Regions from separate parts of the Homo sapiens genome. Here all the other regions are linked to region 2. Evidence: promoter capture Hi-C in 16 types of primary human blood cells and fetal thymus (Javierre and others, 2016). All regions are on one chromosome and are shown on one strand. The core of a region is centred on a gene start or on the middle of the fragment in contact, and the rest is flanking DNA. Distances in the headings are between cores, read along the strand shown.

What was found. Contacts are between HindIII fragments. The CHiCAGO score rates a contact against its expected background, and 5 or more counts as called.
Region 1: a contact is called between a fragment that was not itself captured here and the fragment with the promoter of WDR20 in region 2, in 3 of 17 cell types (total CD8 T cells, fetal thymus and total B cells). The highest score is 8.3, in total CD8 T cells.
Region 3: a fragment that was not itself captured here is called in contact with the fragment with the promoter of WDR20 in region 2 in 1 of 17 cell types (fetal thymus); the score reaches 5.0 in fetal thymus.

The regions. Positions count from the first base shown.
Region 1 is chr14:101,700,323-101,704,124 of GRCh38, reverse strand. All of the region lies in intron 1 of LINC02320 (long intergenic non-protein coding RNA 2320), which reads left to right. Among named protein-coding and RNA genes, the nearest start is that of LINC00239, 28 kb to the left of the region's middle. The HindIII fragment of the contact is 2,402 bases long and covers 534-2,935 here.
Region 2 is chr14:102,137,908-102,142,230 of GRCh38, reverse strand. WDR20 (WD repeat domain 20) reads right to left here and starts at 2,334. Exons shown (of 3, transcript NM_144574.4): 1 at 2,059-2,334. The coding sequence starts at 2,307. It also overlaps a transcript of HSP90AA1 not described here. RefSeq lists enhancers at 2,079-2,238, 2,249-2,298 and a silencer at 2,899-3,094. The HindIII fragment of the contact is 7,184 bases long and covers 1-3,451 here.
Region 3 is chr14:101,732,807-101,736,762 of GRCh38, reverse strand. No RefSeq gene overlaps it. Among named protein-coding and RNA genes, the nearest start is that of LINC02320, 3.5 kb to the right of the region's middle. The HindIII fragment of the contact is 5,667 bases long and covers 1-3,956 here.

The DNA of each region.
Region 1 (3,802 bases), core at 485-2,984, 440 kb after region 2:
TTTTTTTCCCAAATATATATCCAATTAACACCAGCATTTACTGACAAGACCCTCACATCTCCAGTGTTCTCCTGTGTCCTTGTCATAAATCAGGGGATTGTATATTTTCGAATCAGTTTCTAAACTCTTTTTCTGTTGGTTTATATTTCTACCTTTGTACCAATATCACAGTGTCTTAATTACCTTCAGTTTTCTCCTTCTCATCCTCATCGTCTGCCTCCTCCTTCTTCAGGATCACCTTGGTTATTCTCAGCCTTTGCATTTTCATACACATTTTAGAGTTAGGTTATCATTTTCCACCAAAAGCGACTTCTCCTGGGAATTGGATGTGATTATATGAAATATTTAAATGATTTTGGGGAGAATTTCACATCTAAAAATAATGAGCCTTTCAATGATTAACATAGTATATATTCTTTATTTATTTAGGGTTTAATTTCCCTTAATAGTGTTTTGTAGTTTTCAGCATAGAAGTCTTATACATCTTTCATTATATTCATTCACCTAAGAGTGTTTTATGTTTTTCAAAAGCTTTTCTAAGTTTCTAACATTTGTTGCTGGCATGTAGAAATACAAGTGATTTTTGTATATTGACCTTGTATACGGCAATGCTGCTAAATGCACTTATTACTGAAAATCATTTATTGGTAGGTTCATTTGGATTTTCTAATAACACAATCATGTTATTTGCAAATAATAACAGTTTTATAGTTTTCTTTTCTACGTGGATGCCTTTCATCTCCATTCTTTGTCCTTCTACACTGACTAAGACCTTCAATACAATATTGAATAGAGGTGGTGATAATGGACATCTTTGTCTTGTTCTTGGTTTCAGGGAGAAAACTTTCAACATTTTACCAATTCCTATGATGGTTTCTGTAGACTTCTTTTTCAGATCATGGAAGTGTTATTTTATTCTTAGTTTTCTAAGAGTTTTTAATCATTAATTTTGTTAAATGCCTTCTCTGCATCTATTGAGATAATCATGGGAGTTTTCTCATTTTTTTCTTTCTGTGAATATGGTGTATTAGTTAGGGTTTTTCAGAGAGAAACAGAACTAATAGGATAGGTAGATAGAGAGATATAGATAGATAGATATAGGTATAGGTGGATAGATATAGATAGGTAGGTAGATAGATAGATAGATAGATAGATAGATAATTAGTCTATTTTCATTCTGCTGATGAAGACATACCTGAGACTGGGCAATTTACAAAAGAAAGAGGTTTATTGGACTTACTGTTCCACATGGCTGGGGAGGCCTCACAATCCTGGAGGAAGGCAAGGAGGAGCAAGTCACATTTTATGTGGATGGCAGCAAACAAAGAGAGAGAGCTTGTGCAGGACAACTCCTGTTTTCAAAACCATCAGATCTCATGAGACTCATTCACTATCATGAAACAGCATGGGAAAGACCTGCCCCATAATTCAATCATCTCCCACTGCGTACCTCCCACAACACGTGGGAATTATGGGAGCTACAATATGAGATTTTGGTGGGGACACAGAGCCAAACCATATCATTCTGCCCCTAGATACAATGAAGGTATAGGCACTGGGTAAATACAACCATTCCAAATGGGAGAAATTGGCCAAAACAGAGAGGCTACAGGCCCCATGCAAGTCCAAAATCCAGCATGGCAGTCAAATCTTAAAGCTCCAAAATGATCTCCTTTGAGTCCACGTCTTACATCCAGGTCATGTGGATGCAAGAGGTAGGTTCCCATAGTCTTCAGCAGCTCCGCCCCTTTGCAGGGTGCAGCCTCCCTCCTGGCTGCTTTCATGGGCTGGTGTTGAGTGTCTGCAGCTTTTCCAGGCACATGGTGCAAGCTGTCAGTAGATCTACCATTCTGGGATCTGGAGGATGGTGGCCCTCTTCTCACAGCTCCACTAGGCAGTGCCCTGGTAGGGCTACAAGATGAGATTTGGGCAGGGACACAGAGCCAAACCATATTAGATAGATAGATAGATAGATAGATAGTTAGATAGATATAGATTTGCTATAAGGAATTGGCTCATGTGATAATGGAGGCTGAGAAGTCCCAAGATTTGCAGTGGGCAAGGTGGAGAACCAGGAGAGCTGCTGATCCAAAGGCCAGCAGCCTCAAGACCTAAGAAGAGTTATGTTTCTCTCTGAGCCCAAAAGCCTGCAAGACCAATGTCTCAGGTCAACAAGTCTGGTAGGAGGCATTCCCTCTTACTCAATCTTTTTATTCTACTTAAGTCTTCAGTTGATTGGGTGAGGTCCACCCACATTGGGGAGGGCAATCTGTTGTGCTCAGTCTACTGATTGAAATGTTAATCTCATCCAGAAACACCCTCACAGACATACTTAGAATAATGTTTGGCTAAATATCTGAGCCACCTGTGGCTCAGTCAAGTTGATACATAAAATTAACCATCACAAGTAGTGAATTACTCTGATTTTTTTTTTTAGATTTACAGAGAAGTTGCAAAGATGACACAAAGAGTTTCTCATATGCCCTTCATTCAGTTTCCCCTATTGCTTTTTATATCTTATTCATTTATCTTTATTTTTAATTTTTGTGGGTACATAGCAGTGTATGTATCTATGCGGTACATGAGATATTTTGATACAGGCATGCAATTTGTAATAATCACATCAGGGGAAATGGGGTGTTCATCACTTCAAGCATTTATCATTTTTTTGGTGTTACAAACAATCCAATTATACTCTTTTAGTTATTTTAAAAATATTTAATACATTATTGTTGACTTTAGTCACCCTGTTGTGCTATCAAATACTATATCTTATTCATTCTATCTGAATATATCTTTGTACTCCTTAACTGTCCCTACCCTCCACCCCTTTCTACCCTTCCCAGCCTCCAGTAACCATCATTCTACTCTCATCTCCATGAATTCCATGGTTTTAATTTTTAGCTCCCACAAATGAGTGAGAACATGTAAAGCTTGTCTTTCTGTGCCTGGCTTATTTTACTTAACATAATGTCCTCCATTTCCATCCATGTGGTTGCAAATGACAGAATCTCATTCTTTTCTATGGCTGAATAGTACTCCATTGTGCATATGTACCACATTTTATTTATTCTTTTGTTGATGGACACCTCGGTTCCAAATCTTGGATATTGTGAATAGTGCTGCAATGCATGAGAGTGCAGACATCTCTTTGATTTACTGATTTACTTTCTTTTAGGTATATCCCTATCAGTGGGATTGCTGGATCCTATGGTAGTTCTATTCTTAGTTTTCTTTTTGTTTTTTGATTATTTTTTTCTTTTTTGGGATGGAATCTCGTTCTGTTGCCCAGGGTGGAGTGCAGTGGTATGATCTTGGCTCACTGCAACCTCCACCTCCCAGGTTCAAGAGATTCTCCTGCCTCAGCCTCCTGAGTAGCTGGGATCACAGGCACGCACCGCCATGCCCGGCTATTTTTTGCATTTTTAGTAGAGACAGGGTTTCGTTGTGTTGGCCACGCTGGTCTCGAACTCCTGACCTCAGGTGATCCACCCGCCTTGGCCTCCCAAAGTGCTGGGATTGCAGGCAGGAGCCACTGCGCCCTGTCTATTTTTAGTTTTCTGAGGAAGCTCCATGTTGTTTTCCAAGTGGCTGCACTAATTTACATTCCCACCAACAGTGTACGAGGGTTCCCTTTCTCAACACTCCAGCATTCATTATTTCCTGCCTTTTAGATAAAAGCTATTTTAACTAGTATGAGATGATGTCTCATTGGAGTTTTGATTTGTGTTTCCCTGATGATCAGTGATGTTGAGCACCTGTTCACATAGCTGTTTGCCATTTGGATGTATTCTTTTGAGAA
Region 2 (4,323 bases), core at 1,085-3,584:
TGCAAATGTATCTACAAGATACTACCACATGAAAATGAAATTTTACCCAAAAAGCGTTAAAACACTCAAATTATGCAGGTAAGGGCAATTTACGTATTTCACATTTATCTTGTTTAAAATAATTTTTTGGTGTGGTTTTAAAAACCTTGCCTCCTTTTACCCTTCAGGGAATAGCGTCCCACTAAAAGAGAACACTATTGTAATGATACTTCCAGGCAAGAAACCTGTCTTTATGATGTAAAACAGGGCTACCAGATCCAGATAAGGTCTGCCATTAGGATGCTTCAGAAGTCATAACATTTCAAAGAAAAAAAAATTTTTAAGTAATTCCTACATTAATAATTGCTAGTTAGTGAATTTAGTTTTTAAGCACATCGTATTTTTATATAAATATAAATTTTTATAACTTAAAATTCTAAACTTAATTTCCTGAGACAAAATTGGTCCTTTCACTCTGATTATCAATGTCAAGACAGCAGCTTCTTATTTGACAGTCAGTATTTAACTATATTTTACATCTACTGAGTGTTTCAGGGCCTTAAAGTTCATTATGATTATTATATTATTAATTACAACGTGCACTGTAACATTCCCTTTTTAAAGAGGTGCAAATAGAAGTTAAATAACTTATCCAAGGTCACCCAAACAAGTCAGTGACAAAGTTGGGAGTAGGAGTAAAACTTCAGCCCCTAGACTGAAGACTACTTCGAGCTTTTGCAATTCCAAACGAGGAAAAAAAAAAGGTCAAGCGATTTACCCTTAATAACTTCCAACAGCATACCCTAAATACAGTGGTACACTTATTATCATAAAGACTAAGAAAAAAAGATTCACCCTGAATCAAAGAAACAACTTTGCTACATTTAGATACCACTGTCATTTCCCTAGCTCTTGTAACAAGCGAAAATCCTGTACTGGATCTGGCTATATTAAATCCTGAAGAATGTTCACTCTTCAATATGAACAATTTATTTTCATGCTAACATGCATTTACGACTTAATCTTTTATCACCTTGTCCTATTTGGAGGTGCTGTGGGATGCATTAATTTCCTCACTCTTCCATGACATCAAGTCAAAGACTACAATCTCAAAAATAAGCAATTCTCAGTGAAAACATAGTTACATAGCCAATGAAAGAAAAACTCTAATAAATGGCTGCTTTTAAAGAGATACTTTTAAAGGATGCTTACATGTTTCACAGAATTACCGGTAACTCGCCCGCCAAGAAGGATGGTCCCTTTAAAGCAGCTTTTAAAGCATATCACTCCCTGTTTGGGACACAGTCTGACTTGTTGGACAAGATTAATCTGGGCACTCTCACACAACCCCTCTGAACCAGCTTAGTTCACTGGAAACATCATTTCAACTGTAGTACTCAGCCCTTCGCATACTACAAGGGACAAGATGACTCTCCTTAACAATCTTTCAGAAGGTCCCCACGGCGGAGACAGTGACAGCCGTCCTCCCGCGGATGTTTTTGGAAATAGAAATGTTAACACCAGGAGAGGCTCCTAGGAAGTGTCAGTGCGGCAGCAGGTGGAGTAGCCCTGCGTGCCGAGCAGGTTCTTTCTGACCTAGTCTCAATGCTCCGCTTCCCGGCCCCGGTTCCGCCTTACAGAGATCTTGTTAAGCCGTCTTGCGTCCCTGTTCTCTAACCCAGGGCGAGACTTCCAACCCTCCAGGGAGGCGAGGCAATCGAAGCAGACAAGACGGCCACCTCACCTCTTCCGGGGACTCGCAGGCCCGCTCCCTGGCCATGTCAGAGCCTGATGGACCAGGCTGGAGGGGACGCAGCCGGCTCCCCCGGGAGCCTCCCAGCCAGAACCCCCGCGCCCCACGGTCCCTTTCCACTGCCCCCACCCCTTCGAAACGCCACCGCCACCACCCTCCTTACTCCTGAATCCCCTCTCCTCAGGAGTACCCCAGTGGAGTTACCGGCCCACTCAAAAGTAAGAGCGACGGCCACCCCTCTCGGTCACCCTGGCCCCACTGTCACCGCCCTGCTCCCGGCCTCTGCCTACGCCGCTGGCTGGCTCCGGTGACGCCCGGGTCGGTACCTTGCGGACCCCCTTGTAGATATAGAAGTACAGCTCCCGGCCCACATTGAAGCAGAGGCGGTCGCCGTTGCCAGACTGGTCGTTGAGGTTTACGAAGGAGACGCGGACAGGGTTGGATCCCTGCGAGTTGAAGGGCACCCGGTTGGGCCGGCTGTACTCCGAGTGCGGCAGCAGCTTGTACAGACCTTCCCGGGTGGTGAATTGGGTCTTAATCTCGTTCATCTCCTTCCCTCCTCCCTCCGTCGCCATCTTGGAAAGCAGCGTTCATCCTGCCCTAAGTGCCCGGATCACGCCCACCGCGCAGGCGCTGTTCCTGGTGCTCCCTCTTCCCCCACCCCCTGCCTCTTCCTTCTCGCCCCTCCCACCCGCGGGCCAGCCCTGCGAGGGCGGGCCAAAGGGAAGGGGTGGGCTTGTTTACGGCCCGACTGCGCAGGCGTGCTCACCTGGCGTGCTCCACCCGACTGGGCGTCCGCAGGCTCCTCCCCCGGGTGTGGCCTCCGGGCGGCATGGCTGCTTCCCAGGTGATGCCGGCTTCAGCTAGTGGGGTCTAGTTGACCGTTCCGCAGCCGCCAGGGCCAGCGGAAAGCCGGTCAGGGGGAACCGCGGCGGGGCTGGTGTCATGAGCCTGAGGTGAACTTGAGGGTGCCTCCTCAGCGGTCTCCCGCCCTGCCCTGAGGGGCGCCGGGACCCCAAAGAGCGGAGGAAGAGCGCCACCCCGACGGCCACCGCTTCGGAGCCAGCACGCGGGGTACCCTACGGGGAGCGCGGATGCCCCCGTGTTCGGGCGGGGACGGCTCCACCCCTCCTGGGCCCTCCCTTCGGGACAGGGACTGTCCCGCCCAGAGTGCTGAATACCCGCGCGACCGTCTGGATCCCCGCCCAGGAAGCCCCTCTGAAGCCTCCTCGCCGCCGTTTCTGAGAAGGTACCAAGGGACTCAAGATTTACGCTTCACTATGTTTTATTTCAGGCGGGGTAGGGGGAGAGAAGAATGTGGTACAGCATAGGTGTTCTCAAGCCAGATATCCTAATTCCTGCGTGTGATGAGCACTGGCGGCCTCCGCTTCTTAGCGGAGGTTTGTCCTCTCCAGCTGTTCAGAAACACGGGGCGGGGAAGCGCTTTGGGAACCGGGGACTGAATCTTTTTAGGATTCACTGATCTTGCTCAGTAGGTTACGAAGAGCTCTTAATAAAATTTAAGGTAATTGTTTTTTTTTCCAGAAGCCTCAGGTGGAGTCTGTGAGATTATTTACTAGTAGATCCATAGGGATAGTTGTATGCATGTAATGTACAGGGTCTAGATTTATAAGGACGGGCACACGTGTCAAAGTAAGATTCAACAATCACTATTTTATACCTGGGTTTCTTGGCATGTTACACCAGAATAAGAAAGCTTCTAAAGTGACAGAAACATTCTAATAGAATTCCAGGGAGGGGGGAAGCCAACATTTGTAACACCAAGAATGATCTATTCCTGGAAGTTCAGATTATATCTGGAGGGGCACAAAAGAAGTGAATGGAGAGAATTTCTAAAGTAGGAGGAGTGTAAATCATAAACATCTTCCGTATTAAAAAGCAAGTAGATACCAATAGAAACTGTGCCAATGATGTAGTAATACATTTGATAATAACATCTTTAGCCTTTGTAGTGTTGGAAAAAAAAAAGAAAAAAAAGCACTGAAGTACTTCTTAATTAATAGAGCCTGAAAAATACTTAAAATTTTTTCTTAGAATTGTTTTGATGTTATCCGACTTTCCCTAATCTTAAAACACCAGGGTATGTTCTGTCGTTACCATGGCTATATCCCAAACTCCATAACTGTGTTATTTTACATTGAAAACACGTATTTTACAATAATCAACTTGAAGGATAGTGGCATCTTGAATCATCTAAAAATAATTTATCTGTGTTTCCTAATTATCAAGAGGAAAAAAAGTATAATTTTTGGGGGGGGAAAAAAACCCAGCGAGCAAAAGTTAAAACAAAATTTTGTATTATTCTTCAATTAACCATAACATTGTATTTCCCATAATACCTATATAATTCAAGCATTCTATCAAGATTTTACCCTATATAAATTCAACATTTTATTATAATCACAGTAATAAACTGTTCACTTTGTCTCATGCATAGCCTTTGGTTTAGTTTTGTTTTTTTTTTCTTAGATGGAGTCTCGCTGTCGCCATGCTGGAGTGCAGTGGTGCAATCTTGGCTCACTGCAACCTCTGCCTCCCAGGTTCAAGCGATTCTCCTGCTTCAGCCTCCC
Region 3 (3,956 bases), core at 640-3,139, 410 kb after region 2:
ATGACGGATTGCAGCTTCTTGCAAAGTGTTTGTGACCTGTTAGGAAAGCAGCAGTTTGGAGGCAGGCAGTGTTCCGAGCAGCCTTTGGTAAAGCGCTCACCTGGAGAACAGCATCAGCTTCCCAGCTGGGTCCCAGCCAGGCCCCTGCATCCGTTAGGCTCAGGACCAAGCATCTCATGGGTCTCCACAAAAGTCAGGGGCCAAAAAAAACAAAAACAAAAACAAAAAAAAAAAACCACATATGGGGTTAGTTGATTTTATGTCGATTTCTTTAATTGGTTAAATTGAGTATTAACATAAAGCTATCTTGAAAACAATCACTGGGTTCAATTTTCCTACTTTGCAAGGATTCCTGAGGATAGTATCACCCTTAAAGTTGAGCATTTGGGGGTCTCGGCCCAGGGCTCTGTGACTTTGAGGGTCCCACTCTGGTCTGCCTCCTCCAGCAGAACCACTTAGCTGGGAAGGCCAAGGGCACGAGCCCACCTGAAGCCCACACCAGGTGTCTGGGATCCTGGGATTCCTCACCCTCAAACCCTAAGCCTTTTTCTAAGGACTGTGCAGGCCTCTTCCCTGGGTCTCCCCTGTGGGCAGACCACACTGCTGGAATGTTCATCCTGGACCTGAGGTGGGGTGGGGTTGGGAGAGTTGATTAAGGGGCAGGGTGGATGGAGCTCGGACATGAGGGCCGAGATGCCCGTAGCCATGCATGTGAGGCCTTTACAGATGTGGGACCAGCCTCCGTGTGTACCTTTATCCCAGCCTCACGAAGATGAGGAGTGAGTCTGTAGGTGTGCACAGTCATTGTCCACAGATCACAGCCGAGAGTCAATGAAATGTATTACAGCCAAGGAACTTCAGAAAAAAATTAAAAAATTTTTTTTCCGAATACATATTCTAGCATGGAAGAATGACATTTCAAATGTAGATTGTGGTGTTGACCAATAGAAAGAGATGGAAGCGAAATTAACACAGGTAGAGAGTTTATTTGGGCCACAGTTGAGGACTGTAGTCCAGGAAGCACTCCCAAGTTACCTTGGAAAGTGCTCCAGAGAAGAGAGGCTCGAGCTTTTAAATACAAGAGGACAAATCAGGAAAGGGGCGATTGCGAAATTGTTTTTCAGGAATTCTCATCGGTTTACAGAAATAACATTGATGAGTGATTATCTATATGTTGTTGAACTACAGGGCACGGGTTATGGTGTCCAGTGTGTGGCATTGTTAGGTTCATCCATAGCTACTGGTACCAGTCAGCCTAGAGCCCACACAGCAAGCGGCCTCAGGAGATTTCTTTTCTCAGGTGGGGCAGTGAGATGTGACAGCTGTCTCATTCCAGTGCCTCTCTAGGCCTGATCATTTAAAGGGGGCTCGCCTTCCTCAGATAAAAAGTTTCTTTTCTTTGTAGTGGGTACATTTCAACGTGCTGGGTCTGATGCACACTGGGGCTTCTCAAACTCTGAATCCTGCAGCTTCTGAAGTGGCCACCATGCCCTCCCCAGAATCCACTTCTCTTTCCTTCAATTCCACTGTGCCCAGCAGCCAGCACCACCCCTTGAAAACCCAAATCTTAGCTGAGCCTGGTGGCTTACGCCTGTAATCGCAGCACTTTGAGACGCCAAGGCAGGCAGATCGCCTGAGGTCAGGAGTTCAAGACCAGCCTGGCTGACATAGCAAAATCCTGTCTCTACTTAAAAATACAAAAATACAAAAATTGGCATGGTGGTGGGCGCCTGTAGTCCCAGCTACACAAGAGGCTGAGGCAGGAGGCTTGCTTGAACCTGGGAGGTAAAGGTTGCAGTGAGCCGAGATTGCGCCACTGCACTCCAGCCTGGGTGACAGAGCAAGACTCCATGTCAGAAAAAAAAACCCGAAACCAAAAAAAAACAAAAAATGAAAACTCCAAAATCTTATGGTATTACTGCCCTCCTGAAATCCCTTTAGTAGCTCGCCACGGCCCTCAGGATGAAGTTCCACCCCTGGCTCGGCTCTCCAGGCCCTTGGCCATCTGGTTTCCACTGACTTCAGCTTCATCTCTTCCCCTCCCCGCCCAGCCTTAGTTACGTTGCTTGCAGCGCTCCTTGGGTTTCCACAGCTGCACCCCTGCTGGAGGCCTCCCGTCACCCCACGTCCCCTTGCGTCCCCCCGCGTCCCCCCGCCTCAGCCCACTCTGGCTGCTTGCTTCTCTAACACCTGACTCGGGCTTTTCCTGGGTTCCCTTAGCCCTGTTCTTCCCTTTTCCCTGTTACCAACTGTCCCTGTGGGCAGGGATGACTCTTCTCCACCCACCTGTGACCTGTGGAGGGCACAGCTGTGTCTGAATCATCTCCCTGCCCTGGGCACAGCTTGGAGCACACTCAGAAGTGGGCCTTCAGTGCTGAGGATGGAAGTCTAAAAAAATGCATGAATTCTAACCCAGCCCGGTTGCTAGAAGACTAGAAACTAGCCTTAAAAATGATCTCGCAAGAGTTTCCTTTGGGAGGGAATGGCCTTACATAGAGCCCCGTGCTGGTTATGGGAGGAACCCTCACTGTCACGCTGGGCCACACCGTGTGGAACCTGTCCCCCAGGTGGAGCCTGTGTTGTCTTCTGTGTCTGGTGCGGCTCCGAGGAGCACTGAGTGACCTGAAAGCCCAGAGCATGCTGTGCACTCGCCTTCTTTCCTTTCATGCCACATCTCTGCGGATTTGATTCTCAACGAAATAGCCCAAGGCTGCTGCATGTGAATCTCAACTGCAGTCTGTTTCCCATGCGGAAAGAGGGACGTGAGAAAATCAACCTGCACCTCTGGGAAAATGCTATTTTCTGGGGAGCTAATCTGCTCAGCTTCAGGAGCAGCAAGGGTAACTTGGAGGATGAATCTGCCCCGAAATACAGCAAAGTCACTCTTACCGGGAAAGTGGGAAGAAGATTAATCTGAATAGTAAGAAGTCAGAATTATGGATTATTATCGTCCAAGAAAATGCATGCTCATTAATTGTAAGTTCATAACACAGACAGTGATGACCACTAGATTCACAAATAATCATCCAGCAGGCCTCCTTAGAGATGAAGTTTAAGGAAAACACAATGATTTACTATTCATACTTGGAAGGTATGTGTGGCAGGTTTCACTTTCCAAGGTGGCCAAAATAAGGCCTCCCATCCTGCATGCTCTTTTTTACAATGTGGCAATGATAGTCCTCCTGTTGAGAGGTAGGACTATGTTCCCTTCCTTGAAACCAGGCTGGCCTGTGAGTTTGGTAAAACTTACACGACTGACAAGACTAGGCCGTAAAAGGCAATACACCTTCTGCCCACCTCTCTCAGGACGCTGGGCCTCAGAACACAGCCGCCATGCTAGGAGGAAGCCCAGTCCACACACAGAGGCCAGCACTCCCAGCTGGGATCCCAGCCAACAGGCAACACCAATGCCAGCTGTGTGAGTGAGGAAGCCTTCAGATGACTCAAACACAAGCCACTGACTGCAACTGGATGAAAGACCCAGATAAGCTGAGCCTAGTTAGTCCCCAGGGCTGGGGGAAATAGTCATCCAATGCTTGTTACAAAACACTCATGGCTGTCTTAAGCCACTTGGTTCTGGGGTGATTTATTAGCCAGCAAGAAGTAACTGGAAGGCCGGGCATGGTGGCTGATGCCTGTAATCCCAGGACTTTGGGAGGCCAAGGTGGGCAGATCACCTGAAGTGAGGAGTTTGAGACCAGCCAACGCATGGTGAAACCCCACCTCTACTAAAAGTACAAAAATTAGCTGGGTGTGGTGGCGCATGCCTGTAATTCCAGCTACTTGGGAGGCTGAGGCATGAGAATTGCTTGAACCTGAGAGGCGGAGGTTGCAGTGAGCCAATATGGCGCTGCTGCACTCCAGCCCGGGCAACACAGTGAGACTCTGTAAAAAAAAAAAAAAAAAAGAAGTAACTGGAATAAAATGAAAATTGTGCTTGTAGGACGTGAGCCAAG